Regions from separate parts of the Homo sapiens genome. Here all the other regions are linked to region 1. Evidence: promoter capture Hi-C in human tissues and cell types (Jung and others, 2019). All regions are on one chromosome and are shown on one strand. Each heading gives the region's core, a stretch centred on a gene start or on the middle of the fragment in contact. The rest is flanking DNA. Distances are from core to core; before and after follow the strand shown. Region 1 holds the start of ATP6V0C (ATPase H+ transporting V0 subunit c). Region 2 has its middle 16 kb from the start of CCNF. Region 3 holds the start of CCNF (cyclin F).

Evidence for each region. The method cuts DNA at HindIII sites, captures the fragments that hold promoters and counts their contacts. A contact is called where the count stands out against the background at its distance.
Region 2: a contact is called between a fragment that was not itself captured here and the fragment with the promoter of ATP6V0C in region 1, in 4 of the 25 tissues and cell types used here (dorsolateral prefrontal cortex, lymphoblastoid cells, mesenchymal stem cells and 1 more).
Region 3: the fragment with the promoter of CCNF here is called in contact with the fragment with the promoter of ATP6V0C in region 1 in 8 of the 25 tissues and cell types used here (H1 embryonic stem cells, IMR-90 fibroblasts, dorsolateral prefrontal cortex and 5 more).

What each region holds. Positions count from the first base shown.
Region 1 is chr16:2,511,763-2,516,201 of GRCh38, reverse strand. It overlaps ATP6V0C (ATPase H+ transporting V0 subunit c), which reads right to left and starts at 2,250. Exons shown (of 3, transcript NM_001694.4): 1 at 2,020-2,250. The coding sequence starts at 2,098. RefSeq lists silencers at 1,495-1,634, 2,055-2,534 and an enhancer at 3,440-3,734. The HindIII fragment of the contact is 15,008 bases long and covers 1-4,439 here.
Region 2 is chr16:2,411,629-2,416,067 of GRCh38, reverse strand. It overlaps the pseudogene ABCA17P. Among named protein-coding and RNA genes, the nearest start is that of CCNF, 16 kb to the left of the region's middle. The HindIII fragment of the contact is 3,526 bases long and covers 932-4,439 here.
Region 3 is chr16:2,426,980-2,431,418 of GRCh38, reverse strand. CCNF (cyclin F) reads right to left here and starts at 1,972. Exons shown (of 17, transcript NM_001761.3): 1 at 1,922-1,972; 2 at 135-289. The coding sequence starts at 1,937. RefSeq lists silencers at 1,597-1,646, 1,657-2,506 and enhancers at 2,717-2,896, 2,332-2,911. The HindIII fragment of the contact is 14,340 bases long and covers 1-4,439 here.

The sequences.
Region 1 (4,439 bases), core at 1,001-3,500:
GGTTGAGGCTGTAGTGAGCCATGACCACACCACTGCACTCCAGCCTGGGAAACAGAGCAAGACCCTGTCTTGAGGAGGGGAGAAAAAAAAAAAAAAAAAAAAAAGCAGTTGTCTGAATTGGCCAAGTGAAGTCAGAGGTCAGCTCCTGGAGAGCCACAGTAAGCCACGTTTATCCCGAAGAGCCAGGGATAAGCAGGAAAGGCCTAGGCCAGCAATACCGTGTTCTCAATTTCCAGACACCTGCTGGTCAGGCTGCCCAAAGACCTGTGTAGGTCTTGACGGAGAGAGAGGAAAGGAGCTGGGTGCAGAAAAAGGGCTTGGTGGACAAACTCAGGGCTTCAAGGGCAAGCAGCAACAGCTAGAATTTAAGTTCCACATGGGCGGGGATCCCATTTTGTTCACTGCTGTCCTACCAGTACCTGGCACATAGTAAGCGCTCAATCAAGATTGTTTGGATGAATGAGTGACAGCCACAAGCTAATACCCCACAGGTGGCCAGGCAAAATGGAATCTCTGAAGGCATTCTGAGGGCAAAGAACAGAGGAGGCTGGGGGGAAGGGCTCGGCAGCCTGTTGGGAGAAGCCTTGAGTCTGTGGAAAGAGCAGGCGGTGCCTAGGGGGAAGGAGAAGTCTAGACCACTTCTTCCACCACAAATGACCCCTTACTTGCACACGACGGGAAGGCCAGGGCTCACTCACGAATGGCAGACAGGCCCAGGCAGAAGGAGGCCCGCAAGAGAACAGAGAGCTCCAAGCCCCCACCCCACAGGTGTTTACAGTCAGCAGAGACTGTTTGGAGTTCAAACCCTCCACATATCTGCACTAGGAGCCTCCCCAGGCCACCAGGCAGGGTGGGGCAGGGCACGGTCATCAAAGCTAAAACCAGACCTAACCACGGAGGCGGAAATCAGACCAGGCCAGGCCAGTCCACGGAGGCTGAGACTGGGCCAGAACTTAACTCGTCGGACCCACATTCCTGGGCCTAGCCCTAGCCCAAGTGCCATTCTCCCAGGGAGACCAATTGTCACTAAATTGGACGCCCAGGACCTGTCAAGGCCCAATTTCAAAAGCAGGGTGCCACCAAGAACCCTAGAAGGCCCCTTCTCCAAGCCCAGGGAAGCCCCTCCCAACTTCAGGCCTCAGGGAGGGAAAGGAAGGTCATTCATTCACCCCTCCATTCATTAGGACCACAACTGGAAGCCTCAGTCCTGAGGGCAACGACTGGATCCCATAAACTCGGACACCCATGCCACCCTCTCACCCACCTCAGAGCACAGACCCTCTGCAAGCTACACAGCCCCGCCAGCGCCGATGCTGCTGTCTCCCCGCTCCCTCCACTTCCACACACTCCCACCCGGGTCTCCGCGGGCTCTCCGAACCAAGCCCTCAGCCCAGCTTTCCCAAACAGCCCACACAGCGACACGGGTATTGGGCAACTGTAACCAGCTCCAACCGGAAGTACCTGCCTGTGGGTGAGACCCACCTGACCCTCGGGGCCGGCCGCCATAAGGGCGAGGGCTGAGGACCTCCCGTGGGGGACATGGGCTCCCCACCAGCCGGAAAGCTCCAGCGACCGGCTGGGCGTTCCTGGGCCGGACCCGCGCCGCCGCCCGCGCACTGGGGCCTTCGAGGTGTGATGTCACCTGCCCGCAGAATCGGCCCCCCTCGCGCCGCCCCCCTCGCGCCCCCACCCCAGCCTCCCTCTCGCCGCTCCCGGGGCTAATATGGCAGCGGCGCCGCCGCCCCACCCCCGCAACCGCACGACCCGGCTGGCAGGGCCGCCGGCCCGGACCCCCGAGACTCACACCCCGGCCAGGCCCGCACGCCCTGCGCCCCGGACCCCCGGCGGCTCCCCGCAGCCCTCGGGGCGCCGACCCCCGCCCGCTGTCACACGAGGCCCGGGCGCCCCCGACAGCTCGGGATTACGTCAGAGTGACGTCACACACCGGACCCCGGCGAGCTGCGGGCATGAGCAACGCGCGCGCCCCCGCCCCCGAGTCCCTCCCGCCGCCGCGCTCACCGCTGAAGACCATGGCGGCCGAGGCGCCCATGACGGCGAAAAACGAAGCATACTCGGGGCCGCTCTTGGACTCGGACATGTCTGCGGGTGGGGAGGGGGCAAGCTCTGCGGGCCGAGGCGGTGGCGGAGGCGGGGGCGAGGACGGGCCGGGCACGAAGGTTTGCGGGCGGGCGGCGGCGAAGGCGATCCGGCCCGTCAGCCGCTGCGCTCTAAATACCAGCACCGCAGAACAAAATGGCGGCCGCGGCCGCGTCACATGACCTGGGCCCCGCCCCTGCGAGCCGTACCACTTCGCACCGTGGGGGAGACGCGTCCCCGGGACGCCCGGCCGGCCCGTTGACCTCCCCCGGGCTGTGCCGCCCGCCCAGCGACCCGGCCCCGGCGCCCGGCCCCGCCCTGCCTCGGCCTCCGCGGGTGTTTCCGGGCGCCGCCGGCCTCTGGATCTCCGCAGCGTTGGACCGGTCTCGCGCCGGGGCGGGGCGGTGTGGTGTGTGCTTCATTAGCATACGGGGCGGGGCCTCGGACGCCCCGCCTCCTCTGCGGCTGCGCGTCGTCTGCAGGTGTTGGGTTCCCGGCGACGCTTTTCTTTGTACCCCTGGCGTGAAGCTGCAGGCCGTGGTTTCGCGGCCTTGCCCCCAAGACGGGGCCTCACCCCTCCGGGCGCTGGTCTTCCAGGATCTCCCTACCAATCCTGGGCGAGCTAAGGGTCCCAGCAGATGTGCGGCGCGCGGGCCTCCTCTGCCACAGCGTCCGGAAAAGCCCCCAGCCCACACCTGTGAAGTCCCAGCCCGTGGCTGCGGTCACCTCCCTCCACCCTGTCCCCAGTCTCCTCCAGACCCAGACCTACTGCCTCTGACCCAGCAGTTGGTGACTTCACCTCTCGCTTCGGAGAAAAAGGACCCCCTCCCCGCACCTGTCTCTGCCTTTGCATCAGGGACCCAAACATTAGTGGGGTGTGTCTCTGCCCCTCAAGATGTAGGCATGACTGGTGGAAGCCCTGTCGGAACTGCGACCTCTGGAGGCCCCCCGGGCTCTGCACGTTCTGGCGTCCTGGTCCTCCCACCTGTCCTTGCAGCCACCCACTCACGCAAAGCCTGCACCTTCAGGGCCATCTTTCTGTCTTTCTGGAGCAGTTGGAGCGGTTCCCGCAGCCGTGAAAGCAGCCCAGCCAGGGCTGGCGCTGCCCTACTGATCCTGTGTGGCAGTCCCTGGCACCCCCTCTGCCTGATCTCCATTCCCCCTTTCAGGGGCCCTGGGCAGCTGCCACCAGGCCTGAGTGTCCTTTGAGCTCTAAGGCCTCATCCTGGGTTAGAGCTCTCCCTGAGTAGCCTGGATGCTGGCTCATCACCTTCTCTATGTAGGCAATGGGGTCATGGCCCCTGGTCTGGCCCTCCTGCTGGACTCAGCCCCACCTTCCCCAGCAGGAGCCTCCCTCAAGCCCCTTCCCCAGGCTAGCCTGGGTCTGCCACTCTTGGAACTTGCAGCCCGTGAAAGTCCCTAAGTCTGTCCTGGTTCAAAGGAGAGGAGGCAACAGATACGGCCAGAGGCCCTTTCTGCTCCTCCCTCTTTCTTGCCCGGCCCTTGTTTCTGAGAAGACGAATCTTCACTCTGTCTCCACCTCCTCACCTGCCCTTCCCTCTCCAGCTCCTTGCCCTTGCCAAGGTCACTGGTGACCGCCATTTCTCTAAGCAGAAGGACATCTGTCAGGCTGTCCAAGTGGACCTCTGTGCTGCGTGGCCTGCCACCCTCTCCACACACTCTCCTCTCTCCTGCGGACTTCCTAAATCTCAGACGCCCTCATTCTTCCTGGAGTCACAAGGCCCTGTAGCCCCAATTTTGCTGCAGGTCCTGGCATACCCAGGGCTACCCCTAGCTCTGCCCTTCCCCTGCTTGATCCCATCCTTTCCCTGGCTTTGTCCCCCATCTTACGCCGTCTTGTCCCTCACCTGCACCATTCCAGCCCCGACCGCCCTCTGAGTGAGAGCAACACCAGTGCCTGCCCCCATAACTCCAAGCCCTCCAGGAAAGCCTAGGCCAGGAAGGCTGTGCCTGGGGCCGAATTCAGACCAAGGAAAGGTGGCGCAGAGCAGCCCACCATGGAGAAACAGCACAGTCCAAGCTCAGGGGTGGGCTGGGCACGGTGGCTCCCGCCTGTAATCCCAGCACTGTGGGAGGCCGAGGCAGGAGGATTGCTTGATCCCAGGAGTTTAAGACCAGCCTGGGCAACAAAGTGAGACCTCGTCTCAAACAAAACATTGTAGGGTGGGCAAAGAGCACCTAACTCCATTGTGGCTGAAACACCAGGACTGGGGACATGGGGACGTGGAGAGACTTCCCTCTTGCAGGAGCAGGGAGTGGGTCAGCTGTGCTCACTGGCCTCTTACCCATTCATTTTCTGCCTAAGTTCTAGTGTGAGAGGT
Region 2 (4,439 bases), core at 1,445-3,944, 100 kb after region 1:
CAGGGGTGCACTTTTAAAATTTAATAAATAGTGCCAAATTGTCCTCCAAAAAGCTTGATCTTACCAATAGCCTATGGGGATGCCTATTTCCGATTCTGTTGATAATACTAGATATTATCTGTCTATAAATCCTTAGGTAAAATTAGGCATATTTTCATATGGTTATTAGGCACTGGATGTTTTTTCTTCTATGAATAGCCCATTTATTTCTTCAGCCCATTTTTTACTAACAAATTGTTCATATTTTCTCACTGATTTATATGATGGAGATATATATATATGTGTGTATGTATATATATGTATGTGTCTTTGTCCTTTATGTATGTGTCAAGTATTTCCGTTATTTAACATCAGTTAATGTGTCTTTTCTTATATAGACTTGAATGTTTATGTATTTAAATATTATATACTACTTTGTCGTTTCTGGGTTTCATGGCAAGCTCTGGAGGGTCTTCCACATCATAAAGGTAGAAAACTATACTTCTGAGCCAGGCACGGTGGTGTGCACCTGTATAGTTCCAGCTATTCAGGAGGCTGAGGTGGGAGGACTGGTTGAGTCCAGGAGTTCTAGGCTGCAGTGAGCCATAATTGCACCACTGCACTCCAGCCTGGGCAACAGAGCAAGACCTTCTTTCTTAAAAAAAAAAAATGAGGGGAGGGGCCCAAAGGTTGTTTGAAAGTCTGTGCTGGGCATGTGGCCACAGGAATCCTGACTGTCCCCTAGCAGGTGGTTACATTGTTCTCTACCACCCACCAGCACTGATTATCAGGGAACATGCTGCTCCAGCAGCCCCCGAAGGCACCCTCCCTTTGGACAGAGGCCAAGTCTGTTTGCTGCTCTTTTCTGGGGAATCTATAGGAGAATCACGTGAACCTGGAAGTTTGAGACCAGCCTAGGCAAAATAGCAAGACCCCCATCTCTACTAAAATACAAAAATTAGACTGGCATGGTGGCACCTGCCTGCAGTTCCAGGGAAAAAGTGAAACCTTACCTCTAAAAAAAAGGAAAAACTATTCACCAGTCATGGTGGCATGCGCCTGAAATCCCAGCTACTTGGGAGGTTGAGGCAGGAGAATTGCTTGAACCAGGAGGTGGAGGTTGCAGTGAGCTGAGATTGTGCTACTGCACTCTAGACTGGGTGACAGAGCAAGACTCCATCTCAAAAAAAAAAAAAAAAAAGAAAAGAAATTGAATTTGTAGTTAAAAATCTTCCACCAAAACAGAAACTTTTGTCTTTTCAACAAATGGCACTGGGACAATTACACATATATGCAAAAGAATGAATTTGGATCTCTACCTAACACCATATAAAAAATTAAAATGAATCAAAGGCCTAAATGTAAGAGCTAAAACTCAGCCGGGCGCAGTGGCTCATGCCTGTAATCCCAGCACTTTGGGAGGCCGACGCAGGCGGATCACGAGGTCAGGAGATCGAGACCATCCTGGCTAACATGGTGAAATCCCGTCTCTACTAAGAATACAAAAACAAAATTAGATGGGCGTAGTAGCAGGCAGGTGCCTGCTACTCGGTAGTCGCAGCTACTCAGGAGGCTGAGGCTGGAGAATGGTGTGAACCCGTGAGGTGGAGCTTGCAGTGAGCCAAGATCCCGCCACTGCACTCCAGCCTGGGTGACAGAGCAAGACTCCATCTCAAAAAAAAAAAAAAAAAAAAAAAGCTAAAACTCTTAGAAGAAAATGTAGAGGTAAAACTTCCCTATCTTGCATAAGGCAATAATTTCTTAAATCAAAAACACAAAAGAGAAAAGAATAGATAAATTGGTCTTTGTCATAATTTCATAATTAAAAGCTTTTGTTCATCAAGGGACACTGTCAAGAAAGTGAAAAGACAACCTGCAATATAGGAGGAAATATTTGAAAATGATATATTTGACAAGGTCTAGTATCCAACTTTGTAAAGAATTATTGGCTGGGTGTGGTGGCTTATGCCTGCAAGCATTTTGAGAGGCCGAGGTAGGAGGATTGCTTGAGGCCAGGAGTTCGAGACCAGCCTGGGCAACATAGTGAGACTACTGTCTCTACAAAAAATTAAAAAATTAGCCGGGCACAGTGGCATGCACCCGTAGTCCCAGCTACACAGGAAGCTGAGGTGGGAAGATGGTTTGAGCCCAGGAGGTCGAGTCTGCAGTAAGCCGTGATTATGCCATTACACTCCAGCCTGGATGACAGAGTAAGACCTGTCCAAAAAAAAAAAAAAAAAAAAAAAAAAATTTTTACAACTTCCTGATAAAAAGAAAAAAGACAAATAACCTAATTAAAAATGGAGGAGGGATTTGACTAAATAGCTCTCCCAAGAAGATATACAAATAGCCAATAAGCACATGAAAAGATGCTCAACATCATTAGTCATTAGGAAAACAAAGACCAAAACCACAATGTGATACTAATTTATACTCATTAGAATAGCTATAATAATTTTTTTTAAAAAGAGATGGGGTCTTGCTATGTTGCCCAAGCTGGCTTCAAGCTCCTAGACTCAAGCGATCCTCCCACTTCAGCTGGGACTACAGATTGAACAGCTGGGACTACAGATGCATGCCACTGTACATGGCTTTATAATACAATTTTTAAAAGGAATTTAAAAATGTTGGAAAAGGGGGCATAAAATTACCACCAGACCTGCCCTATAAGAAATGTTGAAAGGAGGTCAGGCACAGTGGTGCATGCCTGTAATCCCAGCTACTCAGGAGGCTGAGGCAGGAGAATCGCTTGAACCCAAAAGGCAGAGGTTGCAGTGAGAGCTGAGACTGCACCACTGCACTCCAGCCTGGGAGACAGAGTAAGACTCCGTCTAAAAAAAAAAAAAAAAAAAGAAAAAAGAAAAAAAATTGATAAATGAAATTTCATGCTATGTATATTGTACTATAATTTAAAAAGTAAATAATTTTTTAAAGCGTTGGAGAGGATGTGGACAAACTGGAATCCTCAGACTTTGCTGGTAGGAATGTAAAATGGTTCAGCTAATGTAGAAAACAGTTTTGTAGTTCCTCAAAATGCTAAACACAGTTACCATATGACCTAGCAAATATAGTCTTGGTATATACCCAAGAGAACTGAAAACATGTTCACATAAAAACTCATATCCAAATGTTTATAATACTGTTATTCGTAATAGCAAAAGCAGAAACAACCCACATGTCCATCAACAGATGAAAAGATAAATTGTGGTGAAACCATACAATGGACTAACATTCAGCTACGCAAAGGGATGGAGCACTGACACCTCTTACAACATGGATGAACCTTGAAAACATTATTCTAAGTACAAGCAGACAGACACAAAGCTCACACATTGTATTATTCCATTTATGTGAAATATCCAGAACAAGCAAATTCATAACAGCAGGAAGCAGATTAGTGATTGCGAGGGGCTGGGGGAAGAAGGGAATGGGGAGTGACTGTTAATGGGTATAGGGTTTCCTTTTGGAGTGATGAAAATTTTCTAGAATTAGATAGTGGGGAAGGTTACTCTGCATATACCAAAAACCACTGACTTGTAAATTTTATTCTTTTTAAAAAAACTCTTATCTCATGACAGATTACTGACTTGTAAGCTTTAAAAGGGCATATTTTATATGAATTATGTTTCAACAAAAATGTAATTAACAAATTCCATTTACAATACTCACAGACTTCATTACACTCAATATCACTCAGGTTCTTGACACTGCAAAACCTCTGTAGTTCAGAGTTGTAATATAAGTTGGTGAAAGCCATCCCCAGGCAGTGCCCTGGAAGTATTAGGAATGTATAATCCAAGGATTTTGAGATTGTTGCATAGCCTAGCTATGCGAAGAGAATAGAAAATATTAACTCTGCTTGCAGGAAGAAAAGGGCATATCTTCTATTATCTATCCTAACCCACGTTATTGTATATCCATCATTACAACATCAGACTCCCAGGCCTCCAGACCAGAAAACTGGTTCTCCCTGACTCCTCTTCCTCTATAGTCATTCAACCTCTAAGACCTAAGTATCTTTCTTCTGCTATGCTCCTCGAATCTGTCACTTTACTTCTTTCCAATTGTTCACGCGGGAGGATCTGCAAGAACACGGTGTGTGTGGGAAAATCAGGAGCACAGCCGCAGCATGGGCTGCATCTGCGGAGGTGGGGGAGCTGAGGGCAGAGGGAAATGAGGTTTACAGGTGATCTGCGTCCAGATAGCAGGGGTGAATTGCCGGCTCCCAAGTTGTTTGAGTGTCATCTTCCAGATGATAAGGAGGATGCAGTTCCTGCCTCTATAGTTTGTGGAGATAAAACTATCACCAAGAGTCCCTTAGGAGACAGAATGACTCCCAAGTTAAAAGCAGAGGGGACTGGGCACGGTGGCTCACGCCTGTAATCCCAGCACTTTGGGAGGCCGAGACAGGTGGATCACGAGGTCAGGAGATCGAGACCATCCTGGCTAACACAGTGAAA
Region 3 (4,439 bases), core at 723-3,222, 85 kb after region 1:
GCATGAGCCACCGTGCCTGGCCTCTGCCCCAACCTCTTTTTTAGCCAAAGTTTTGTTCTGACAGTTAAGAACACAAGGCCTGATGGTATAATCAACAATGCTAGGGCTCATAGTGTTTTCATGCAGGGACTTACAGCTCGGACGGCCAGGATGTCCTCTACAGAAAGCCATTTCAGGATGTGAAAGAGCACATCTTCGGGGAGACTCAAGATGGTCAGGTTTCGGGGCCTCCTCCTTATTCTTCGCTTTGTAGGATAACAGAAACACTTGGCACACCTACAGTGGACCACTGAAGGAAAAAAAGACAGAAGCCTTGATAAGATGAAAAATTATTCTATATACACACCCTTGAAGGGAAAAAAAAAGGATAAAAGTTACATCTGAAGATGATCTAATGGTTACTATTCCCTGTGCCACAAAAGATGGAACTATGCTTCTTGTCCCAAACAAAGATTATGTAAAGGAGTGGCATTGCACAAATTACAGAAGAGATCATTCATTTTCAAATATTCAACAAATATTTATGGCAAATAGCGCATGTCATGTAACTTGGCTATTGGGAAACTTTCTGATCCAGAGCCCACATGACAGGCAGGAAGGGGAAAAAGCTGCCGAAGCTGAGGACGGTTTTCCTTCTATTTCACTCTCAGGAAAACTCCTGGGGCCTTTGCTGGATAGCTTTGCTTTTTGCACACGTGACCAAGGTGCATAATGTTCAATAAAGATCTGTGGGCTTGAAGAGTCTGGTTTTCAAGTCCAAATTAGAAGGGTCGGCCCTGGAGAGAAGCCACAGACTTGGAGGCCGGGGCAGTGTGCGTCCAAGTCTCAGCTCTGCAGAGTCTCAGTGTGCCCTCTATTGTAGAATGCGGAGTTGACAGCTACGCAGTAAGGTTGTTGCTCAGGTCCCAACACAAACCTAGACCTGTAGGTTTGTGTACAGATGCAATCATTAAAGGTGAGACGGGCATTCCACCCACCAGGCAGGCAGCCCGGACATGCTTCTCAGATGTGCTCTCTCCTCTTCCCACAGCCGGATTTTCCAACTCCTACTCCAGCAACCCCTTCCTCACTCTAAGCAGATGACCTTAGCCCTTATTTCACAGGGAAACAGAAGCCCTCAGACAGGAACCTCAGGATCCTGCCTCCCCATCTACAAATCTACCTTTCTATCCATCCTTCCTTCCAGTCCTGAAAGGAAGCGCCACTCCCCTCTGTGGGCCCAAATCCCTCCCCGCCTTGCTAGGACTTCCTAGCGATTGCTCCCGGCTCCCCTCTCTTGACCGGGGTCTTCCTGTTAGCAATTAAATCAGCTGCAAAAGCCAAACGTATTCCAGGGCGACGAATTCTCAAAGATTCTATAGACCTCTCCATAAAATATTCCTCATTCTCCGGCTCCAGGACAGATACTATGATAATAGCTGAAACCACAGTTCGTGTTTCCTGTGCCTCAACGCGCGCGGGGCCGAACGCTGCTTTCCACAGAGCTAGGTCCACGGCCCCGCTGGACTGAGGCTCGGTCAGGGCCCGGCCGGGCTGCGGGATCGCTTCGCCCCCACGCGCTCCGCAGCCCTTTCCCCGACCAGGAGGCGCTGGTGTTTGGCTCCCCGAGACCCGATCGCCGCCCCGGGACCCGATCGCCGGATCGCTGCCCCGGGACCCGATCGTTGCCCCAGGAAAGGGCCGGAAAACGTCGCCGCGGGGGAAGGCTCCGAGGGGCTCGGGCGCCCGCCGGGCATTTAAACCGCGCGCCCGGCCGCCGGGGCTCCCTGCGCGGGACGCGACATCCGCCCCGGGTTAAAGAGCTCGAGCCAGCCCTCTTCAGGCCGCCAGGGCCTCCCCTCCCGCGGGACCCACCGTCCGCCCCGCAGGGCAGGCAGAAGGGGTGTGGGGCAGAAACCAGCGGACATCGCCCCGCACTCACCGCCGCCGCTCCCCATCGCCGCGCTCGCGTCGCTGCCGCCGGAGCCCGCCTGAGAGCGCGCCCGCGCCCCGGCCGGAGCGCGCGTAGCCCTCGCGCAGGCGCAGACCCCGCCCCGCCGCCCACCCCAGTTTTCAAACGCACCCGGCCCTCCCATTGGCCTGCCCGGGGGGGCCGCCGCCGGCCCCGCCCATGTCCCGCCCTGTGCTCGCCTCATTTACCGCCCTCCACGCCCTCCCCGCCTGCTCCGGGACCCGCCATTGGCCGCGCCAGGACGCGAATTCGAACATTGGCCGCTGATTGGTGGAACCCGCGTGGCCGCCCCGCCTCCCCAACGGGGCTGGGGTCCCGTAGGAGCGCTTCCCGGCCGGCGGGCAGGGGTTTGTGGGCGTCCCCTCCCGGCCGCATGGGTTCGGGCTTCGCCGCTGACCCCGGCGACCGGCATCTGCGGTGCCAGATGGGCTGCGAAGGCGCACGCCTGCGGCCAGGGGAAAGAGGACTCCTTGGCGTCCCTCGCAGTCGCGGCCGTGATCCAGCCTGGGACAGCCTCGACGTGGCGCTTCTAAGACGAGGCCGTGCCCTGCCCGGGTCCCGGGGTCGCTCCTGGGCCCGCGACCCTCACCCCCAGCTTGCACGGCCTTCCCTTCCGCCGCCTGCTTCAGGTGGAGACCCTTGGGTTTGTGGCTGAGCCGCTGCTGGGCGGGGATGCTGGCCGGGATCGTGGTAGAGAAAGAGGAGGTCGGAGCTGACGCTGGGAAGTCTCCCCCGCGGAACGCTGACCCCTTCTTCCCGCGAAACGTGGCGCACCCTGGACGCCTCAGTGCTCCAGCCCCGGGGCAAGCCCTCCCCATCACTTTGGCCAGATGCTGCCCCCTGTCTGGCCTCCTCGGCTGCTACCTGGAGCTGCTCGCCGCGGGAAGTGTCGTATCTGCTCACTCTTGTCTTGGGCAGTGCCCATCTGAGCTGTCCTTCAGGAGTCAGCCACACCGCACCCCTTTTACGGCACAGGCTGTCAAGGGGAAGACTCGCAGCCTCCTGACTGTCTGGTGGAGGACAGAGGGGGCTTTTCCTGGGGAAGGCAGGGGCCTGGGCCAAGGCTGCCCACCCCTCCCTCACGCTTCCCTCAGTCTGCACCCTTCCATCCTTCCGGGTCCCCATAGAACTCCTTCAAGTACTGGGCCTGCCCTGGGCACACAGACAGGAGCCCTGGCGTGCAGGCTTCAGCCGGCCTGGGGCAAGAGACAGAGTAAACAGGTGATCACAGCACAGGGTACAGAAGAGTCCGTGGCCCCAGAGAGGGTCTGGAAGTTGGGAATATTCCCTGTCCCGGAATCAGGAAGCGGGTGAAGGAGGGTGAAGAGAGGACAGGCTGAGCGAGTTTGGGGCCTGCTCCCCAGATGTCCCATGTTCTCAGCCCCCAGATTTATTATCCCCTTATCTCACTTTTGTCCTCCTGGGTTACTGTTTCCTACTTTGTCACTGTTACCTGTCTCCCCCTAGGGCAGAGGTGCACTTTCAGGGTTAGCTTCCATAGCATCTTGAAGGGATTAATCAACTAGAGCCAGCCATGAGCACATTAGCCACACCAGCTGCCTCTAGAATCTAGAACAGCATCCTTGGTCCCTAGGTTGTTGTTTAGCTCTATCCTGTGCTTTGTGTCCTGATCACTCTCCTTTCAACATGGACAGGCAAATTTCTTTTTCAGGGAGCAGGAGTTGTCTTGACTGCAGCCATGCCTGCTCTCGCCCCACACCCTGCACTGGCAGTGGGAGCCTCCAGGGCTGCCCTGGGGTGATAAGTGGCTCCTCCAGGGTGTGGGCCCGTTTCCCACTGGGCTTCAGGAAGGTGAGACCTTGTTGGAAAAGTCTAAACTGTTAGGAGCTCAGGGAAATTCCTGGTGGAATGAGGTGTCGGTTGAAAACGTTATGGGTAGTGAGGGGCAGGGGAGAGAAGGGAAAGTGAAGTAGCTTGGGAGCCTGAGAAATCCCACATTCAGAGAAGAAGATGGGCCTTCAGTGGAGGCAGAGAGGGGCATGGGAGGAATGAGAGCTGGATATGGGAGCCCAGGGAGTGGCTTTCATCACAGGGAGCAGTCACCTGAAACGAGGACTGAGGAGGGTGGGTTGGCGACCATGGGTGTGCAACGCCGTTGTTCTGGGCAAGGGGTGCAGGAACCATAGGCAAGGCCTGTGCATGACCCTTTCCTGAGTCCTGGCTGAGAAGGGGCAGAGACCAGCATCTGCACTTCCCAGAGAGGAGCTGAGGGGCCTGTGGCAAGGGGCAGAGTGAACTCCACAGAGAGAGAAAGGCCACGGGATGGAGCCCGTCTCAGAAGAGAGGTGAGTGTACATGACAAAGGCATGTGGCCACATCCATCTGCATCTGGACAGTGTGATGGTCTGGCGCCCATGGGGCCTCTGCTCAGTGGTTCTCATGCTGGAGCTGCGCCAGAGTACCTGCTGTAGGGCTTCTTGCAACATGGATTGCTGGCCCTGCCCCAGGCATTTCTGATTCAGTAAGT